Linked DNA regions of Homo sapiens: regions 1 and 3 are each linked to region 2. The links are contacts of gene promoters, found by promoter capture Hi-C in blood cells and fetal thymus (Javierre and others, 2016). All regions are on one chromosome and are shown on one strand. The core of a region is centred on a gene start or on the middle of the fragment in contact, and the rest is flanking DNA. Distances in the headings are between cores, read along the strand shown.

What was found. Contacts are between HindIII fragments. The CHiCAGO score rates a contact against its expected background, and 5 or more counts as called.
Region 1: a contact is called between a fragment that was not itself captured here and the fragment with the promoter of LDAH in region 2, in 3 of 17 cell types (total B cells, naive B cells and total CD8 T cells). The highest score is 6.1, in total B cells.
Region 3: a fragment that was not itself captured here is called in contact with the fragment with the promoter of LDAH in region 2 in 1 of 17 cell types (total CD8 T cells); the score reaches 6.4 in total CD8 T cells.

What each region holds. Positions count from the first base shown.
Region 1 is chr2:19,912,706-19,915,646 of GRCh38, reverse strand. It overlaps WDR35 (WD repeat domain 35), which reads left to right. Exons shown (of 27, transcript NM_020779.4): 26 at 1,370-1,610; 27 at 1,939-2,941. The coding sequence ends at 2,089. Among named protein-coding and RNA genes, the nearest start is that of TTC32, 12 kb to the right of the region's middle. The HindIII fragment of the contact is 181 bases long and covers 1,477-1,657 here.
Region 2 is chr2:20,821,196-20,824,553 of GRCh38, reverse strand. It overlaps LDAH (lipid droplet associated hydrolase), which reads left to right and starts at 1,453. Exons shown (of 7, transcript NM_021925.4): 1 at 1,453-1,517. RefSeq lists enhancers at 1,270-1,659, 1,880-1,949, 1,752-2,577. The HindIII fragment of the contact is 14,255 bases long and covers 1-3,358 here.
Region 3 is chr2:19,894,842-19,898,220 of GRCh38, reverse strand. It overlaps TTC32 (tetratricopeptide repeat domain 32), which reads left to right. Exons shown (of 3, transcript NM_001008237.3): 2 at 186-352; 3 at 1,095-1,590. The coding sequence ends at 1,234. Among named protein-coding and RNA genes, the nearest start is that of TTC32, 5.5 kb to the left of the region's middle. The HindIII fragment of the contact is 1,832 bases long and covers 1,027-2,858 here.

The DNA of each region.
Region 1 (2,941 bases), core at 318-2,817, 910 kb after region 2:
TATATATAAAAATTATTTTTATGTTTATTTTATAACTGACCTTCATTTAGTTTTAACTAATATGTGACATAAATTATACACTGTTTAAAATAGCTGTATCATATTCAATTTATACACCATTTCTAGACTTAAAAGAACAATTAGATCTTTAACTTGAGATGCTTCACCTACTAGGTGAAGATCTCTATATGCCTCATTTTTTTTTTTTTTGTCAGTGGTAAGACGATCTGAAACAATGTATGACCTGTAAATTATTACCCTTGAACCTATCATGCTTTGGATATGAAATTAGAGGATATTGTTTATTGTAACTGAGTGATTACATTTTATATACATTTTTTCTACTACACTTTGTTGTAAATACTTGACCCCAGAACCAGTTTATAGGATTCTGATTGTAAAACACATGAATATATTGTTTAAACTGGTTTTATGAAGTTTTTGATATACTATAACAAAGTATTTTTAAGATTCCAAGGTCTAGAGAAGAAAAAGATACAAATTGGTTATAAATCTAATATTAAATCTTAATATTAAATCTAATATTAAGTCTGCTTTTTTTATTATACTTTAAGTTCTGGGGTACATGTACAGAACGTGCAGGCTTGTTACATAGGTATACATGTGCCATGGTGGTTTGCTGCACCCATCAACCGTCATCTACATTAGGTATTTCTCCTAATGCTATCCCTCCCCTAGCCCCCCACCCCCAACAGGCCCAAGAATACAGTGCATTTTAAAGAAAGATTTTTTCATCTCCAGTATAATTGCAAATAAGATGTTGTAACTTGAATTGTCTCAACTGACAACTTGGAGACTCATTTTCACTTTTTCACAAAATCCTATTGTTTCAGTGAGACAAATGACAAAAGCAGTAATACAAAAGCAATAATCTGTCCAAAGAAACACAGAGAAAAGAACATATTATTTTATACTGTTTTGCTTATATTGTTTTGCTTTTTTTTTAACAAAAGGAAACATGGTATTATCTTGCAGTTTATGACTAACATAGTATAATACTCATTTGCTTTTTATGAAGTGCCACAGAAATTTCTAACATAAATTGAAGAAAATGTGGATGTTTTGACACCAAAATTTTGTGTGTGTGTGTGTATTTCTGAGCTGGCACAGCCATGTGCAGCATTTGGTGGTGGTTCTTTTCATAGGATGAGCTGTTAGCCAGCTTCACAGAACCTTGGATATCATGTAGCCTAGTTCCTCCTCTTGGTGCTCCCATCTCTCAACACTGTTTGCTTTCAGTTCGTTCATGCAAGTTCAATGAAATCACCTTAACTTAGATTCTTCTTTTGCATGTTCATGATATCATAATAATTATTTTAAAAAACCCCAATTGCCCTGTTTTTCTTAGCTCTTCACCTGAAAGACTATGAAGACATCATCCCTCCTGTGGAGATCTACTCTCTGCTAGCACTCTGCGCATGCGCCAGCAGAGCCTTTGGGACTTGTTCAAAAGCTTTCATTAAACTTAAATCTTTAGAGACCCTCAGTTCAGAACAGAAACAGCAGTATGAAGACCTTGCTTTAGAAATCTTCACCAAACATACTTCAAAAGATAACAGAAAACCTGAATTGGACAGCCTTATGGAAGGGTAGGCTAATTTTAATTAGTGGATGCCATTCTATCTTATTAGAAGCTTGGATTTCTAGATGTACAATGTTTAATGTAGGAATTAAAGCACTGAATTTTGAAGCAATTCACATTAACATTATACCCTATTTTATTTATTTTTACAAGTGTATTCATGCTTTATTTTGTCATTGTAAGAAAGGTTTTTTCTTGAAATAACTTTTTTAAATGAAAGTATTTGATGTTCATCTCAGAAGTTTTATTCTTTAGGTTTTTTTTAAGTGTATTAAATAAAGTTAGACTAATGAGAAGTTTTAAAGTATAATGAATTGTTTCTCCCCGTTTTACAGTGGAGAAGGGAAACTGCCAACATGCGTTGCCACAGGAAGCCCAATCACTGAGTATCAATTCTGGATGTGCAGTGTATGCAAACACGGTGTCCTTGCTCAGGAAATAAGCCACTACAGCTTCTGCCCCTTATGCCATAGTCCAGTGGGATAAAGGAATGATAAACTGTATATAACTGTAAAATATATGTAGCATATATACATGGCTATATGCTGTATATGTAATAAGGTTTATTTCTGTGAGTTTTGTATGAAAATCAGCCTCATTATTTATAGTTGAATTTTTGCACAAAATATATGTTAATAAAATAATTTTTATGGCAATACAACTGTGAAATAATAAGGCCGATTTTCATATAAATGTATGAAAATCAACCATGTTTTCTCTCACCCTCTCTCTTTTGTTTATCTTGTTTTTGGTTACATGATACCATGGAAATATTCCAAATAAATTTTTTTCTCACAGTGTCAAGGTAACTGAATTCATTAAAAAATCTTGAAGGGAGTAGGGAGTGGGGGAAGCATGGGAGTGGGGCAAAGTTGAATTTAGAGAATTTTTATAACCCATGTTACAAGGAAGTTAAACAATTGTAATAATGAAATGAGCTTTCTCTATAGCCATATTTAATTAAATAAGTGTCGAATGTCTTCTTTATTGTATTTTCAGAAGTGAGGCGATGGCATTTTAAGACATTTTTTACAATCTGAATTGTTTCTAATAGCCCTATTCTTCTATTTTAAAACCTGTCCTTTTAGTCTCATTTAAGAGATGGCATTTGGAATTTACACTTTCATATGATTGTGCAGAAAACTTGCCTCTATTTATAATGAAGATAACTTAAACAGAAATATCCATTTTGTAGTTATAGCTTCTGTTGAAACATTGTCACTAAGTTGGACCGTTTATTTACACAAGTATTGTTGAGGGAGTGATTTTTTCTTGATATGCGTCTGTTTTCATTTATTATTAATTTGAAAGATAAACAGTTGTGATCCATAATGGATC
Region 2 (3,358 bases), core at 204-2,703:
TTTGGTCTGTTTTCACATGTATCAGCTTCCCCTTTGACCTTCTACCATGTTGTGACACTGCACAAAAAACTCTAACCAGAACTGAGCAGATGCTCACACTATGCCCCTTGAGCTTTCCAATGTGCAGAACCATGAGCTAAGTAAACCTCTTTTTTAAATCCAAGCATACTTTGAAGATATTGGGGGTTCAGTTCCATACTACCACAATAAAGCAAACATCACAATAAGGCAGTTCACAGAATTTTTTTGGTTTCCCAGTGCATATAAAATTTATATTTACACTGTACTGTAGATTATTGTGTACAACAGTATTATGTCTAAAAAAAGTACATACTAAGAAAAGAAAAATAGCCCAGAGCTGTCTGAGCTATGTGAGGTATGCAAAATTTATTAGACCCGGACAGAAGTGAATACTGGCTTCCGCCACGCCTTCCCATGCCTTAGGGCAATTGTTAAAGGCATTTTGTTCTTTATTAGCTGCCTCACCCATTATCTTTATGTTCCTGGAATTTGTGATACAAGGAAGAAAGCATAGCCAGTCAATAGCTTAAGTTTTTTAAATATAAATTCTTGGTAAACAAGTTAAGCTCTGCCTCCTCTCCTTTCCTTAAAAACCGGCTCACGCCTGTAATCCCAGCACTTTGGGAGGCCGAGGCGGGTGGATCATGAGGTCAGGAGATCGAGACCATCCTGGCTAACAAGGTGAAACCCCGTCTCTACTAAAAATACAAAAAATTAGCCGGGCGCGGTGGCGGGCGCCTGTAGTCCCAGCTACTCGGGAGGCTGAGGCAGGAGAATGGCGTGAACCCGGGAAGCGGAGCTTTCAGTGAGCCGAGATTGCGCCACTGCGGTCCGCAGTCCGGCCTGGGCGACAGAGCAAGACTCCGTCTCAAAAAAAAAAAAAAAAAAAAAAAAAAACCTACTCCGACTGCTGCTAATTGGAGTGTATATTCAAGGCAACTTGAATCTAAGCTCCTGAGTGGCCATTCTCAAGCACTGAGCCCAAATAAACTCTATACTTAATATTATTCTCTGAATTTTCTTAAAGTTGGCAACACCTTAATTAAAAAAATACTTTATTGATCATGCTTATGAACATGATCAAATGAGAATCAACTTTCCTGTGTATGTGGGGAAGATATGCAACTAGTAACGCAGAAAGAGGGAAATGGGAAGAGGGAGAAAAGAGGGGCAGACATGGAACAAATGAGAGAGAAGGAAAGGGAAGCCAGAAGCCAGAAGCACATCAAGGATGACAGAAAATAAAAGGCGGATAAAATTCAAATGAAAAAGAAAGGAAAACCCCGACACCCTCCAAGAGGTCTCTCTGATCTGGACCACCGGCTCCAAGCCAGTAAGAAATCTCCCAGCCAGCTGTGCGCCGCGCGCCAGGCTGACATCGGCTTCCCGGATCAGCTCCGGCGCGGTACTGTGACGTCACCTGAGGGGGGCACTTCCGGTCTCGTGCCGCCTTCCCAGGACCCTCAGGGAGAGCGGGCAGCCTTCCAGGTGGACAGGTGAGGTACAGCTTGCCGAGCTCAGGGTGACTGCCCAAAGGAAGGACGGGTGGGCAGGCACGCGGGATCTGGCGCCCCTTCTTCTCTATGGTTCCTCGCAGAGCCCCTGTTGCCCTGGGCCAGATGGCCCGTAGCAGCAAAAATAATACTGTTCCGACAGCTCGCGAGTTCGGAGCCACTTGGCCTGGGAGTCCCTTGAGTTGCAGGCCGGGCAGTCGCTCACCCGAGCGCGGTAATGCAGCATTTGAACCCCTAAGTGTAGCCCACCTGTAGGGAGTCTTATGGTGCCCCCGCGGAGGAGTAGAGGCCAAAAAGTTGGGCAGCTGGCCGGGAAGAACTCGCTAGGAGGGGTCAAACTCTGGGCCGGGAGTGTTCTTTGCCCCCGGCGTTTAGTGCTCACGCCGCCTTTTATTCACGCTGAAGACCTTAACCGTAAACCCTCATCCTTGGGTCTTAGTTTGGTTTTGTTCCCCACGCAAGACAGAATGCAGATTGGAACACTTTATTCCTTGGTTAATTCGTATCTTCCCTCGCAAGTAGTTACCGGACACCTGCTTTGTGTCCTGTGTACCAAACACAAGAGTTGATAGTCCTGGCCGGGCGCCGTGGCTCACGCCTGTAATCCCAGCACTTTGGGACCCCGAGGCGGGCGGATCAGGAGGTCAGGAGATCGAGACCATCCTGGCTAACACGGTGAAACCCCATCTTTACTAAAAATACAAAAATAAATACATAAATAAATAAATTAGCCGGGCGTGGTGGCGGGCGCCTGTAGTCCCAGCTACTCGGGAGACTGAAGCAGGAGAATGGCGTGAACCCGGGAGGTGGAGCTTGCAGTGAGCCGAGATGGCGCCACTGCACTCTAGCCTGGGCGACAAAGTGAGACTCAGTCTCAAAAAAAAAAAAAGAGTTGATAGTCCTTGAGTTGAAAGAACAAATCTGTATGGAGAAAGAGATACAACCAAAAGAAACCCAGAAGATTTAGAAGCATCTCCAGAATGTTTATTCTCAAAAGCTGTTTTTTAATTAAACTTCTTTCTGAAACTATACGTAGGAGTGTCTCTTGTGTGTTTCCCCATTTTTCCACCTGAAGGTTAAAGACTTAGAAACCTGCTAAGGCCCCTCTTTCCAGCATGTAGCATTCTAGGGGGATAATCAGGGCAACACAGTGGGTGCCCATCTAAAATTTTATATTTTAATATTTTGCTTTTTGATAACTTAATGCCTTCAGACTGGAGGATTTTTTCTTTCTTTTTTTTAATTTTTTTAAAATTATACTTTAAGTTCTAGGGTACATATGCACAACGTGCAGGTTTGTTACATATGTATACATGTGCCATGTTGGTGTGCTGCACCCATTAACTTGTCATTTACATTAGGTATATCTCCTAATGCTATCCCTCCCCACTCACCCCACCCCACAACAGGCCCCGGTGTGTGATCTCCCCCTTCCTGTGTCCAAGTGTTCTCATTGTTCAATTCCCACCTATGAGTGAGAACATGTGGTGTTTGGTTTTTTGTCCTTGCGATAGTTTGCTGAGAATGATGGTTTCCAGCTTCATCCATGTCCCTACAAAGGACATGAACTCATTCTTTTTTATGGCTGCATAGTATCCCATGGTGTATATGTGCCACATTTTCTTAATCCAGTCTATCATTGTTGGACGTTTGGGTTGGTTCCAAGTCTTTGCTATTGTAAGTAGTGCTGCAATAAACATACATGTGCATGTGTCTTTATAGCAGCATGATTTATATTCCTTTGGGTATATACCCAGTAATGGGATGGCTGGGTCAAATGGTATTTCTAGTTCTAGATCCCTGAGGAATCGCCACACTGACTT
Region 3 (3,379 bases), core at 693-3,192, 930 kb after region 2:
ATAACAGGGTTAAACAAAAATTGATTTTAGCTCTTTATTTGTACGTTTTTTCTTCAGCTTGGATTTTCAGTGTTGATGCTGCATGTTATAGGCTGTGAAGTTTGACAATACCCAAAAGAGAATGAAAGTGGAAATGAGAGGAATTTGGTAACACGGTGTTTTTAATGTGAACTTTTTGTTTAAAGCAAATGCAGCCCTGAGGATTTGGCTACTGCATATAACAACAGGGGGCAAATCAAGTACTTCAGGGTTGATTTTTATGAAGCCATGGATGACTACACATCTGCCATAGAAGTCCAACCCAATTTTGAAGTTCCATATTACAACAGAGGGTTGATACTGTATAGGCTGGGTAAGAATTTTTTTTCTTTTTGAGTTTTGTCATTGACTGTATTCTGTTATTTCAGAGCTTTCAAATGTTGTAAAACTAACGTGGTAATCAAATTTTAAAGTTCTGTGAAATTTAGGTTTAGAGCTTGGAACAAAGGAAGTGTCCCTGAGTTTATTTTAGGCTTTTGATAGGCGTTATAGATCACAGCAGAGCACTGGGGTGGGAATTGGACCTGGGCGCAGGAGCAGGGGTGACCCCATTACTTTGTGCTTGTGCATTCCCAGCTGTGAAATGAGGGCAATTCAGATGTTCACCTGTGAAACTTTTCTGAGTTAAAATCTTTGAAGACACACAAGACAATAGAAAGTGAAGTTTAGATTCTTGGATTAAAGGGACCATAGGTAGTGTTTCTTCATTTAAAGTGTCAAAAAGAAAATTAGTTCCCGTTTCTTAATTTTACTGCAATTATGTAAAACAGGTGATACAGTTTTATTAAAATTTTAAGATGATTGATAATATTTACCTGTTAAATCTCAATAAATAAACCCATAGCTAATTTTAGGTGTATTATTCCCTAAGGGCACACAAAATTACTTTGATATACACATCTCTATATTATTAAGATAAAAAGATTCCTTTACTAGAAGTGACTGAAAGCTCATAAATATAAAAGCAAAAGTACATGTATCAAAGCTTTTCCATGAATAATATATAGAAATACTCGGTTTCTTTTCTCTTTTCCATTTTTTGGGTTCTGGTACAGGATATTTTGATGATGCTTTGGAAGATTTCAAGAAGGTCTTAGACTTAAATCCTGGATTTCAAGATGCTACTTTGAGCTTAAAACAGACTATTCTAGACAAAGAAGAAAAACAAAGAAGAAATGTTGCAAAAAATTATTGATATTTTTAACTTAATGGAAGTATTGATTCATGATCCTTACATCTGCATCTAGTTATCAGTAATTTAGATATTGAGCTATTTTGATTTATATTTAAGAAATTAATACATTAGCACTGAAAGTTAAATAGTGTGTTTAAGGTAGTTAATTTCAGGTTGAATGGGTTTTTTTTAATGAAGTGTAAATAATACCAATGTATAAGTGTATATTATTATATTAAATATTATAGTAAAAAGGAATGTGTGGTATTTTCTTCAGCAAAACTATTTTTGTGATTTTTTTATTCTCAACTTTTTATTTAAAAAATGTTACATCTGCAGAAAAGTTGAAAGTATAATAAACTCTTCAGTTAAATTCATGAGTTGTTAATATTGTGCCACATTTGCTTTTTCTATTTAAATATATAACTTTTTGCTGAAACATTTGAAAATAAGGTGACGAGGTCACAGTACTTCGCCCCTAAATATTTCAGCCTACATTTTCTAAGATTGAGGACATCCTCCTTTATAACCACAATACCATTATAATACCTAATAAAATGAATAATTCTGTAATGTCAGCCATATCCAGCCCATATTCCAAAGTGTGTAGATTTTTATTTGGATCTAGAGCCAATCAGGTTTCAATTGCATTTTTTTTTTTTATGTTTCTCTCAGTTCTTTTAATCTAGTCCCCTGTCCATTTTCTTGCCCTAGCATTGGCTTTGAGAGAAAGGCTATTTTATATAGCTAGGCTAGAGAGACATAACATTTAGGCTTAAAAATAAACATGTCCTACAATTTGAAAGAGTTCAGCTTGAATTACACTTGATTTTCTCAAGTAATCATTGATAAAAATAGGTTAAGATTTAAATATTGAACATATTTTCTGTCTCTGGATAATGACAATTGTTATCAACATTTACTGAATACTATAAGCCAAGCACTGTTCAAATCTCCATAATAATTTGGTGATCAGGTAGGAATGTATAGAGAGGTGAGGAAATGACAAAAAGCACTTAGTAAGTATAAAGTTTAAAAATCTTTTATTTTGGTGCTGCCAACAATTAGGCCCTTATGAAGCTATCAAAAACCGGGAAGAACTTGAAGGGAAAACAGACTAACACCAGCCATATGCCATCTACATTTTTTGTATTTTATTGTTGTTTGGCTTCCAAAGATTCCCAAACTAGTTTATTACTGCTATGGAAAAGCTGTTCTGTGGTGGAAATTACCCGAATCAGGAGAAAGGAAAGTTTGCTTTGTGTCTTCAGAGGAAGGCGCAGGGTAACTTCTGTGGCCTCAGATGCAATCAGCAGCAGCAGCCTTAAAATGCTTTTTTTGTGTGTGTATGAGTAATCTCATGAAGCAGAAAAAGTAATTGCCCTGTTTGTAGCTCATAAGTAATATCTGGCAAAATACATGGAGAGTTTGGGCTGTAGGTAAGTGAATATTAAGAGGAAATTAAGTTTCATGGCCTAGAAACAAAGTCTCTGTTTCTGGAATTATTCATACTTTCCAAAACGGTTTATCTTATATTTGTTGGAAATCTAAAAAAATTTCTAAAATTGCATTAAAATGTAGAAAAATCCTTAGGAAAACTTTTTTTTTAAAAAAGCAAGTTTCCTAGACCTTGGGAGGGAAAGCTTTAAGCCATTCCACCCAGAGAAGCAAATGCTTAATGTTTAATTTTATTTTCTCTTGACTCATATTCTCTTTACTCTTGACTGGGATCAGATGGAATATGAAAAGGAAAAATTGTTTAACATTTTCATGTGGTTTGTTAGATTATATTCAAAATTTCTTCATCCTTTATCAGAAAAAAAAAAAAAAAAGTCACTTAAGTTCAGAATCAGCAGTTGCTGATTGTAGACCCAGGCACTCATTTTCTCTTGTCTTGTTACTGGAAATAAAGAATAATTCATTTACCTTGTTTAGCGTTGAAACTTTAGGCATTATTCAGATTCTAAGTTTCTGATTGACCAAATAATACCTTGGATATTTACCTTAAAATATATTCATTACCGTTCATATTTCCCACATTTCAGTATTCGTTATTTCCTTTTTCTACTAGAAAAGTAACTTATGTTTTCTAATTTTTTCCTTTGTAAAAACAAAAGAATTGTGGTTTGTTATAAGGTTTCTCTTTCACAAAGTGAGGTAAGATAG